Regions from separate parts of the Homo sapiens genome. Here all the other regions are linked to region 2. The links are contacts of gene promoters, found by promoter capture Hi-C in blood cells and fetal thymus (Javierre and others, 2016). All regions are on one chromosome and are shown on one strand. Each heading gives the region's core, a stretch centred on a gene start or on the middle of the fragment in contact. The rest is flanking DNA. Distances are from core to core; before and after follow the strand shown. Region 1 overlaps LOC100507513 (a long non-coding RNA gene). Region 2 holds the start of EDDM3B (epididymal protein 3B). Region 3 holds the start of RNASE3 (ribonuclease A family member 3). Region 4 has its middle 38 kb from the start of RNASE3.

The links. Contacts are between HindIII fragments. The CHiCAGO score rates a contact against its expected background, and 5 or more counts as called.
Region 1: a contact is called between a fragment that was not itself captured here and the fragment with the promoter of EDDM3B in region 2, in 10 of 17 cell types (M1 macrophages, total B cells, M2 macrophages and 7 more). The highest score is 11.0, in M1 macrophages.
Region 3: the fragment with the promoter of RNASE3 here is called in contact with the fragment with the promoter of EDDM3B in region 2 in 2 of 17 cell types (naive B cells and total B cells); the score reaches 5.8 in naive B cells.
Region 4: a contact is called between a fragment that was not itself captured here and the fragment with the promoter of EDDM3B in region 2, in 6 of 17 cell types (M2 macrophages, M0 macrophages, M1 macrophages and 3 more). The highest score is 10.4, in M2 macrophages.

Annotation. Positions count from the first base shown.
Region 1 is chr14:20,868,257-20,871,003 of GRCh38, forward strand. LOC100507513 (a long non-coding RNA gene) reads right to left here. Exons shown (of 4, transcript XR_110261.4): 4 at 1,979-2,200. Among named protein-coding and RNA genes, the nearest start is that of RNASE3, 22 kb to the right of the region's middle. The HindIII fragment of the contact is 5,154 bases long and covers 1-2,747 here.
Region 2 is chr14:20,767,099-20,769,798 of GRCh38, forward strand. EDDM3B (epididymal protein 3B) reads left to right here and starts at 1,306. Exons shown (of 2, transcript NM_022360.5): 1 at 1,306-1,408. The region is part of intron 1 of LOC107984671 (a long non-coding RNA gene); the gene reads right to left. RefSeq lists an enhancer at 1,014-1,293. The HindIII fragment of the contact is 10,803 bases long and covers 1-2,700 here.
Region 3 is chr14:20,890,132-20,892,831 of GRCh38, forward strand. RNASE3 (ribonuclease A family member 3) reads left to right here and starts at 1,254. Exons shown (of 2, transcript NM_002935.3): 1 at 1,254-1,320; 2 at 1,551-2,217. The coding sequence starts at 1,556. The coding sequence ends at 2,038. The region is part of intron 1 of LOC100507513 (a long non-coding RNA gene); the gene reads right to left. The HindIII fragment of the contact is 4,045 bases long and covers 1,220-2,700 here.
Region 4 is chr14:20,851,583-20,854,363 of GRCh38, forward strand. No RefSeq gene overlaps it. Among named protein-coding and RNA genes, the nearest start is that of RNASE3, 38 kb to the right of the region's middle. The HindIII fragment of the contact is 3,390 bases long and covers 1-2,781 here.

The sequences.
Region 1 (2,747 bases), core at 187-2,686, 100 kb after region 2:
TAGCAATTCTGTCACTCTAAGAGAATCTTCTCAGCCTCGTACTCCTTTCTTGGACAACCACTACTTTAAAAGCAGGATCATGTTCAATGGCATTCTGGCAATACAGATGTCCATTAAGTAGAAATGCACAATGTCTACTTGTTGAATATCTAATTGTTCTCCAAATTTATTAACAGGATCTTCTATCTTGATAGGAAAAAAAAATTCATATTTTGAAATCTATCTATCTATCTATATAGATAGATAGATATATTTTCTTTCTGAGAATATATATATTTTTTCTTTTTGAGATGGAGTTTTACTCTTGTTGCCCAGGCTGGAGTGCAATGGCACAGTCTCAGGTCACTGCAACATCCACCTCCTGGGTTCAAGCGATTCTCCTGCCTCAGCCTCCCGAGTAGCTGGGATTACAGGCACCTGCCACCATGCCTGGCTTATTTTTGTATTTTTAGTACAGACGGGGTTTCACCATGTTGGCCAGGCTGGTCTCAAACCCTTGACCTCAAATGATCCACCCGCCTCGGCCTCCCAAAGTGCTGGGATTAGAGGCGTGAGCCACTGCACCTGGCTATATATATATTTTTAGAACTCCTTCTTTCCACAGTGTAGAAAGTACACATTACAAAGCTCAGTCAAATGCCAGGAACTTAAACATCCACACATTAGCATAAATTGTTAATTAATTTCTCAAAAAAAGAAAAAAATGCATCTCACTTGAATTCCAGGGAATCAACCTAAAGTATACTGAGATTCCTAAACTGAACCTTAAAACACAAGACACAGAATCAAAAGTCAAAGAACAAAAGGAACATTCTTCAGCAGGAGATAGGGAGCTGGTTTTAGAAACAGGTGGAGATCACCGAGTCTCAGCATAAGCAAAAGCAACACAGAAACCTAGGCTTTTGAAAAATGTCTAAAATACAGCAAAAGAGAAGGCATTCGAATGTTTTTGTGTAGTAATAGCAGGCTACTAATACAGGAATACAGACTATATTAATCCATGACATTTCAGTGAAACAATAAAAACAACTCTTTGGACATCCAGAAACAAAGGATGTTTTATCTAGTTAACTTTTTTTTTTTTTGAGACAGGGTCTGGCTCTGTCTCCCAGGCTGGAGTGCAGCAGCCCAACCTCGGCTCACTGTGACCTCCACCTCCTAGGCTCAAGCGATCCTCCCACCTCACCCTCCTGAGTAGTCGGGACTACAGGCGTGTGCCACTACGCCCGGCTAATTTTTGTATTTTTTGTAGAGATGGGGTTTCACCATGTTGCCCAGACTGGTCCCAAATTCCTGGACTTAAGTGATCCACTCACCTCACCCTCTCAAAGTGCTGGGATTACAGGCATGAACCACTGCCCCTGGCCCCCTTTTTATTCATATGTGAAGACAATAGAAAGACATTCTTCCATCACTAATATTTACTTAATTAACATTTCTGAGTGCCTTTGATATGACAAGCACTATGCTAAGTGCCATATAGGGAGAGGTGAACAAAACAGACAGGTGCTTGTATCCTAGAAAACTTTGCCTCTGCACACCTTGCTTGTGATAATAATTATAGGGCATATGCCAAACACTGAGCTATAAATCTATGAAGGAAGGATGTTGCTTACTTATCACAAGTGATAACCAGTGATACCAGTATCTATGAGCCATAGAAAAAAAGATTGCCTATTTCCCTGACTAGCTCAGAGGGATACAGCTTAATTCAGAAGATAAAACCTTTTCTTTTTTTTTTCTTTGAGATGGAGTCTTGCTCTGTCGCCAGGCTGGAGTGCAGTGGCGCAGTCTCGGCTCACTGCAACCTCCACTTCCCGGGTTCAAGCAATTCTCCTGTCTCAGCCTCCCGAGTAGCTGGGACAACAGGTGCACGCCACCACGCCCAGCTAATTTTTATATTTTTAGTAGAGACAGGATTTCACCATGTTGGCCAGGTTGGTCTTGATCTCTTGACCTCGTGATCCGCCTGCCTCAGCCTCCCAAAGTGTTGGGATTACAGGCGTGAGCCACTGCACCAAGCCAAGAAAACTCTTTCTTTATGGCAGCATTAGGCACCCCCAATAAGAGCCCACTCACATCATCATGATAGACAGAAACACTGCAGGGGGAAAAATGATCTTGCCTTTGGGCACCAGGACATTGGGACCTCCCAAGTAGTCTGCATCAGTGGATCATAAGGACCAACCATTTATCAAATCTGGGAAAGACAAAAGGCAAGCATAAGATTAAAAAGTAATGCAGGTCTTCGCCAGATGGCTCTGCTGCTTAATAAGTAAAATCACAATCACAGAAGGTGATAACCAAGGATAATTAGGTAAACGACCACACTCCATTTAATCACAGTTCAGAAGATCTTCCCTAATTTCTGCTGAAGTCTCTTCAATAATTTCACCTACCTCTGGAAGAAACTAGAGGACTAATGGGAAGAGTCCATTGGTGTTTATGTGGGAAAAGGAAGGTGCAAGCCATTTCAGCTCAAGGAAAGAAAGGAAGGGAGGGAGGGAGGAAGAAAGAGAAAGAGAAATGAGGAAAGGAAGGAACGGAAAAGAGAGAAAAGAAGAAAGGAGGGTAGAAGAAAGAAAGGAGGGAGGGAGGAAAGAAGAGAAACTGACTTTCCAAAGACACAGCTGAAGCAGCAGCTAAGAGGTAACATTATGAAAGTATGGGGTATCATTCTTCAGGATGCAGTGTATTTATTAAATCAGAGGCCTGTAAAGGGTACTGTGTTCCCAATAGGAAGAATA
Region 2 (2,700 bases), core at 56-2,555:
TTCTTTGTGGGGGAAAATTTGCATCTGTAAAGAATCTCTATTAACATAGCTAAATATTTTTCTTCCAGACCTTCCAATCCTAAAGATATTAATTAAGATCTGAAAGGGAAACATTTGTCATCTATTGTCTCTAAGGGCAGCCACTATAAGACTTCGAAAGAATTGGTCTCTACCATCTTTATTTTAACCTGAATATTCCCTTTCTATCAATCTCAGGTCTTTAGACAAAACTAGTTGTCAACCAGAAAATGTTTAAATACACCTATGGCCTGGAGGCCCTCCACTCCCCATCAGCTTTGAGTTGTCCCGCCTTGCTGGACCAAACCAATGTATTTCTTAAATGTATTTGATTGATGTTTCATGCCTCTCTAAAATGTATAAAACCAGCTGTGCTCCAACCACCTTGGGCACATGTCCTCAGGACCTCCTGAGAGCTGTGTCATAGGCCATGGTCACTCATATTTGGCTCAGAATAAATCTCTTCAAATATTTTACAGAGTTTGACTCTTTTTTTTTTCTTTTCTTTTGTTTTGAAATGGTGTTTTGCTCCTGTTGCCCAGGCTGGAGTGCAATGGCGTGATCTCGGCTCACTGCAACCTCTGCCTCCCAGGTTCAAGCGATTCACCTGCCTCGGCCTCCCAAGTAGCTGGGATTACAGGTGCCCACCACCACGCCCAGCTAATTTTTGTATTTTTAGTAGAGATGGGGTTTCACCACCTCGGCCAGGTAGGTCTTGAACTCCTGACCTCAGGTGATCCTCCCGCCTTGGCCTCCCAAAGTGCTGGGATTACAGGCGTGAGCCACCACACCCAGCTGACTCGTTTCATCGACAATAACAAACTGCCTAGTAAAACTTCAGATACTGGCTACCTAATCATAACTATCTGGCCACCAGTTTCACTAGATACTCTTTCACCTCTCAACGAAAGTCCCACAGTTCACAATGTTATAAGTGGCTTTCTTCAGAGAAGTTTCTGTGTAACATAGCATAACCCTCCAGGGACTTCCCAGAACTTTGTCAGAAATTGAGTGCAGAAGCCAGGTCTCTCGTTGTCTACTGATAGCACCAGATAACCCCTTTCTGGGGTCACCTCACTCTAGGGTCTTGCACTTCTTCTGTGCCCTGGAGTCAGCCTTTGATGTTTGTAGCCTTTGCTTGAGGCCACTGTCTGAATAAACTCAAGTGTTCCAGATGAGAAGATACAGGAACAAGTTCACATAATAAGGCTATTCCCCATCACCACCTCCACTACCAATCAGCTGGAGCCTTGCAGCTCCCCCTGCTATTCCTTTCTCCACTGCTGCAGATTTCCAGGGCCCTGAGGAAAGGAGGACTCAGACTCTGCTCTTCAGATCCACACACTGATCCCAACTACAACCAGTGACCTGAACTTGGAGTCTGAGTAGGGTAAGAAGGGCTCTGCTGAGGATGTTTGGGGGACAGCCAGGAGCACTGAAAGGAGGCTGATTGAACTTTTAGATAGCAAACAATGGAGAAGGATCCAAATCATGGAAAACAAAGGTGTGAATTCTGGTCAGCCTCAGTCCCACTGATACAGGCTTTCCCTGCCCCTCCCTTCCTTCACCCCCAGTCTTCTCAAACACAATGCATTAAAACCGCTTACATCCTGCTCTTCTATCCTCTGTAGGTCTTTATCATCAGGACAGGGTTCCACAGATAGGAAGTACCGACCCTTTGTTCTGTGTCTGATGTGGACATTTGACATCATTAGAAGTGCTCTCAAATACATGCGTCTCATTAGACACTTGCAGGTCTGTAGGGAGCTATTATTAAGTCCATCTGAGGACACCAATGCTCAGAGTTGTGAATCAGGTTAGAGATTCAGTAAGGGCGGGAACACTTCTCATGGTAAATGAGGACAGAGCACTAGTTTAAACGGTAGACTCTTTCAAAAAGATCCCCACACTCCATGCTATCACCACAGAAGCCACTGTGGGGGCTCTTTTAGTCTTGGTGCTTGATTGATTACAGGAATATTTCAAATCTGGAATTCTGGTTGGGTGTAGTGGCTCATGCCTGAGAATCCCAGCACTTTGGGAAACCGAGGTGGGTAGATTACTTGAGGCCAGGATTTTGATACTAGCCTGGCCAACATGGCGAAACATTGTCTCTACTAAAAAAAATACAAAAATTAGCTGTGTGTGGTGGCAGGCACCTATAATCTCAGCTACGTGGGAGGCTGAGACAGAGAATCTATTGAACCCTGGAGGTGAAGGTTGCAGTGAGCCAAGACTGTGCCACTGCACTCCAGCCTGGGTGACACAGTGAGACTCTGTCTCAAAAATAAATAAACAAATAAAAACCTCAAAACTGGAGTTATTTTATGATGACATTTTCAAGGAGCAGCTCTGACAAACCAAGATCATTTGTAATAGTGATAATTAGGGGAATGACCCCTGAGAAGGAATATGGGTAGTTAGTAATGAACATACGTTCCACTCAGGCTTTGGAGAAAGTGTTATAAGGAAGTCAAGATTGGAGAAGCATCATTAAGTAATTGGAGAAGCAGGCAAGAAGTAATTGCAGGCTAGGCTGTCATTTTAGCGAATCGAAGCCTTCCTACCTAGGAACCACTTCCCAAGTAGTTACTCATTTTCTACATTTCCCTAAAATCTGACAACCCTTTCCACTTCAAGGACATAAACCTTAAAATATCATTCTCTTTTGGACACATGATC
Region 3 (2,700 bases), core at 4-2,503, 120 kb after region 2:
TACTTTCCATTTTCTAATCTCAAAGCTAGACCAGATTTAACATCTGTTAGTACCCAGGCCTTACCTTTGCAATTCACTTCTCACCTCTGTACAATTTCCCCACATCATCCCCTGTGCCCAGAATGCTCATCTCTTCTCTAAATCCCCTGAAAATCCCCTGCTTATCCTTTAGGACCTGCTGAAATAAACTTTTTTTTGAAGTTTTCCTTATTTCTCAAGCCAAGTGATTTCCTTCACCAGCAGTGTCCCTATGACACCATGTTCACACAAATGCTATTACCTCTATCACACTGTAATACAATTATATGTCTACAAGTACTTTCCTGTGTTTCTCTGAGGGCCAAGAATAAATGTATGCTTTGTGTATCAAACTGTACACTTGACCTCTATACTTTCAGGAATACAGTGCTCTGTCCTTAAATGTTCATTTGTAAATACAGAACCATATTCTTGTTAATATCACAAAATGAAACTTACCAGGAAGATGAATGACAACCCCAGAACACACTGTTTTGTAGAAAATACCATAGGCTGAAAAGATCACAGGAATACCGAGTGCTAGGTTGGAATCTTTCATGACACCAAATGTTCATTCATCCTCTGCCAGATTTTACAACTGTCCTCGGTGTGTTTTTAGGTTATGTAACTTTACACAAAGTGGAATCAATAATCAGGGCAAGACTTAAGAGAAAGTGGATCCAATGCAAGAGGAGTAAAGAAAAAAATTCCTCAATTGTATGGAGCAGATTGTTTTAATTATCTACAGAATCTTGTGCCCCAAGAAATTAATAGCTCAAGTTTCCAGCAAGAGTGGTGGATGAGATGGAGAGCATTTATGTGAGAGAGAACCAAGGATATTACTAAAAATGGAAGGGAAGCTGGGTTTCTCCTGGGCAAACAGCCCTCTGTGGCTCTATTTCTCCTAACTACTATGCCTGCCTTCGTGTCATTTAGTCATTTAGGGGCCTGCCAGAGGACAGTTATAAAATCTGTGGTCATTCTGCCGGCAGCGTATAGTTTTCACCCAGAGTCCAGATCCCACCGGCAAAACTCTGTCTAACACAGGATGACTTGGAATTAGAGTCCGTATAGCAGAAAGAGCAGCAGGGCTGTCCTTGGGTATCCGTTGCTCAGCCAAGTCATCAAATAAAAAGGATGATTGCACAAGTGGACCATGTGTCAATCTGTGGGTTTCTGCATGGCCAGACCCACCAAGGGAAGCTTTATTTAAACAGTTCCAAGTAGGGGAGACCAGCTGCCCCTGAACCCCAGAACAACCAGCTGGATCAGTTCTCACAGGAGCCACAGCTCAGAGACTGGGTAAGTCAACAATCCCCAGAGCTGGGACAGGAGGGGCAGCGACAGGGCAGCACCTGAGGGAGAGGTGAGCTGAAGTTAGTGCTTAGGAGATGTGGCACACTTTGGGGACAGGAAGAAAAGGAAATGCGACCCCAGAGTGGCAGCAGAGGGGCCTGTGGGTTGAGACACTATAGAGTGTGTCATAACCGAGACCGGATCGGGGAGTAGTTACTTCTCTTCTTTTCTTACAGGAAACATGGTTCCAAAACTGTTCACTTCCCAAATTTGTCTGCTTCTTCTGTTGGGGCTTATGGGTGTGGAGGGCTCACTCCATGCCAGACCCCCACAGTTTACGAGGGCTCAGTGGTTTGCCATCCAGCACATCAGTCTGAACCCCCCTCGATGCACCATTGCAATGCGGGCAATTAACAATTATCGATGGCGTTGCAAAAACCAAAATACTTTTCTTCGTACAACTTTTGCTAATGTAGTTAATGTTTGTGGTAACCAAAGTATACGCTGCCCTCATAACAGAACTCTCAACAATTGTCATCGGAGTAGATTCCGGGTGCCTTTACTCCACTGTGACCTCATAAATCCAGGTGCACAGAATATTTCAAACTGCACGTATGCAGACAGACCAGGAAGGAGGTTCTATGTAGTTGCATGTGACAACAGAGATCCACGGGATTCTCCACGGTATCCTGTGGTTCCAGTTCACCTGGATACCACCATCTAAGCTCCTGTATCAGCAGTCCTCATCATCACTCATCTGCCAAGCTCCTCAATCATAGCCAAGATCCCATCCCTCCATGTACTCTGGGTATCAGCAACTGTCCTCATCAGTCTCCATACCCCTTCAGCTTTCCTGAGCTGAAGTCCCTTGTGAACCCTGCAATAAACTGCTTTGCAAATTCATCTGGAAGTGTCTGTGTGTCTTCCTCGGCCGCTCTGCTGTCATTTAGTGACAATCTGCTCTAGAGATTTGGGTTTATCATGAATCTCTCCCCCTCAATATCTGACCAAATTCCTTAATTCCCCCATCATCCTTCATGTGATACCTGATTCCAGGCCTGCCTTAAAAAAAAATCCAATTGAGTCAACTTAGCATTGGTCTCCCTAGCCTTAATATCTCCTCTAAGCAATTTTCCATCCACTGACTCCTCCCCCAACACCAACCTATAACTTGTGTATAGATCTCCACTTGTTTTAGTTGTATTCCAGAATTGAGCCCAATTTGATATTGAGGTCCCATTTGATGCTTTATGGTCCGACTATGGTTTTTATTGACATGATTTCTATCCCAAGAAAAAAAGAGCTGCAGTGAATCAGCTGAAAATGCACGTGCTTCATTATGATTTATGAATGATAAATTTTGATAGAATTGAACGTTATGATAGA
Region 4 (2,781 bases), core at 53-2,552, 84 kb after region 2:
CAACATCACCTATGCAGTATTCTGAAACAGAATGCATAACCTGAATTTAATCATAAGGAAGCATCAGACAAACCCAAAATGAAGAATGTTAAAAAAGGAGGTGTCTTATAAAACTAAACACACTCAGGCCAGGCACGGTGGCTCACACCTGTAATCCCAGTACTTTGGGAGCCTGAGGCAGGTGGATCACCTGAGGTCGGGAGTTTAAGACCAGCCCGATCAACATGGTGTAACCCCGTCTCTACTAAATACAAAAAATTAGCTGGGTGTGGTGGCACATGCCTGTAATCCCAGCTACTTGGGAGGCTGAGGCAGGAGAATCTCTTGAATCCAGGAGGTAGAGGTTGCAGTGAGCCGAGATTGTGCCATTACACCCCAGCCTGGGCAACAAGAGCAAAACTCCATCTCAAAAAAAATAAAAAAAAAATAACTAAACACACTCTTAACACATAATCCAGCTGTCACTCTCCTTGGTATTTGCACAAATGAGTTAAAAACTTATGTCCACACAAACACCTGCACATGGATGTTCATAACAGCTTTATGCATAACTGTCAAAGTTTAGAAGCAACCAAGGCGTCCCTCAGGAGCTGAATAGATAAATTACTGTGGTACATCCAAATAATGGAATATTATTCAGCACTAAAATGAAATGAGCTCTCAAGTCATGACAAGACATAGCGGGACCTTAAATGAATATTATTAAGTAAAAGAAGCTATTCTGAAAAGGCTACTACTGTATGTAGCTGCTACTACATACTTTATGTACTGTATGATTCCAACTATATGACATTCTGGAAAAGGCAAAACTATGAAAATGGTAAATAGATCAGTAGTTGCCAGGGGTTAAGGAGGAAGGGAGAGACAAATAGGCAAACACAGAAAATTTTTGAGCAGTGAAACTATTCTGCATGATATTATAATGGTGGATGCATGTCATTATACATTTGCCAAAACCCACAGAATGTACATGACCAAGAGTGAACCCTAATATAAACTACAGACTTTGGGTGATAATACTGTATCAATGCAGGCTTCTCGGTTGTAACAACTGTATCACTCTGGTGGGGGGATGTCGATAATGGGGGAGGCTGTGCTTGTTGGGGGGCTGTGAACCTGAAACTACTCTAAAAGATAAAATCTCTCAAAAAGGTGGGATAAAAAGGTCTTCTCTTTTGTGATTTCTTTAAAAATGTTGAAGACCAAAAAGACACGGAAAGGCTGTGGAAATGATTCAGGTTAAAGGTAGCTAAAGAGTTTTGGCAGTTAACTGCATCCTGACGCTAGCCTGGAGCCTGCACTGGGGGGAGAAAGTATACTTCAAAAAAGATTGTGGGTCAACTAACAAATTTGAACACAAACAGTACATTTGATAAAATTATTACATCAATGTTAAATGTAATACTCTAGCCAAATTTGTCTATTTACTATCGTCTGAATTTTCCTTTTGAATCACATTTGCCATTCCTACTGCCTGGGGTGCCTCTTCCCACCTATGCAAGTCCTACCCACCTCCAAATTTCACCTAACCACTCATGACCACCCAGAAGACTTGCCCAAACATTTCAGCCCTGGGTGAGCTAGTCCTTCTCTGAACTCACAGAATCTGTTTCTACACTGCTGACTTTGTGCTTTTACAGCCTGCACTCTCAGTTGTCTCTCTCTATAAACATATCATATCTCTCCACCTAAACCGAAAGCAAACTGGTAAAGGGAATGTTGCTTTATGCTTCTTTTTACCTTGTAGACCTTCCTACGATAGATGTTCACTGTAATTCATTTATTTGACAATTATTTATTAAGCACCTGCAACGCACTGTCAGTATACAAAGATAAATAAGACGTGGTCCCTGTCCTCAAGGGACTTACAGTTCTATGTGGGGAACCAAACTATAAATAACAAGTTTTAAATGTGCAAGGAACATAAAAGAAAGAATAGGAATTTTTCCAAGGTAGGCTCTGGAGTAGTTGATACTTAAATTCAGGCTTGAAATATGAGTAGGCATTCACCAGGTGACAGAGAACTGTTGGCAAGGTCCTAATATGGTACACGACTGAGAGAATGTAGGTGTCAGAAGAAAGACTTCTGCAGGTCTGTCCTTGTTTGTACCTGTGGGCTTTTTGCATGAGAGCCACACACCTCGCCCTATCCCATATTTGTGACTGGAATGTACATTAAAGGGAGGTAGTGATGGGTGACCTCAGGAGATTAAAGCCATTGCTGTAGACAAGAGGAGTTAGAGTGGGGTAGGGGCAGTTCCAGGGTTCTCCAAGGGTGGAGAACGGAGAAGGAAGCCTTGCTACTAATTAGGGACATGTGCACAGTCTGTGAGATTGAGAGGGTTCAGTTAACCCATCTGGAGAACAAGCTCTCACACAGTTAGGCAGCCTTCACACGGTGCGCAATGCACCCCAAGAGGACAGACTGTGTGCTCTTGATGTGAACAGACTGCTCAGGTCATGATCGAGGACAGAAAGACTCAATTCAGACTCTTCCCATTGTTCCAAAATCTCTCTCTCGGAAGAAGCATAGAGACCTTTATCAGAAGAAGAAAAGTAATCAGCTTTCATGCTTTATCTGAGTGAAAGAGAACTAAAATAATTTTTCACGTTATTTTTGGCCGGGTGCAGTGGCTCATGCTTATAATCCCAGCACTTAGGGAGGCTGAGGTGGGAGGATCACTTGAGTCTAGGAGTTCAAGACCAGCCTGGGCAACATAGGGAAACCCCATCTCCACTAAAAATACAAAAATTAGCAGGTGTGATGGCGCACACCTGTAG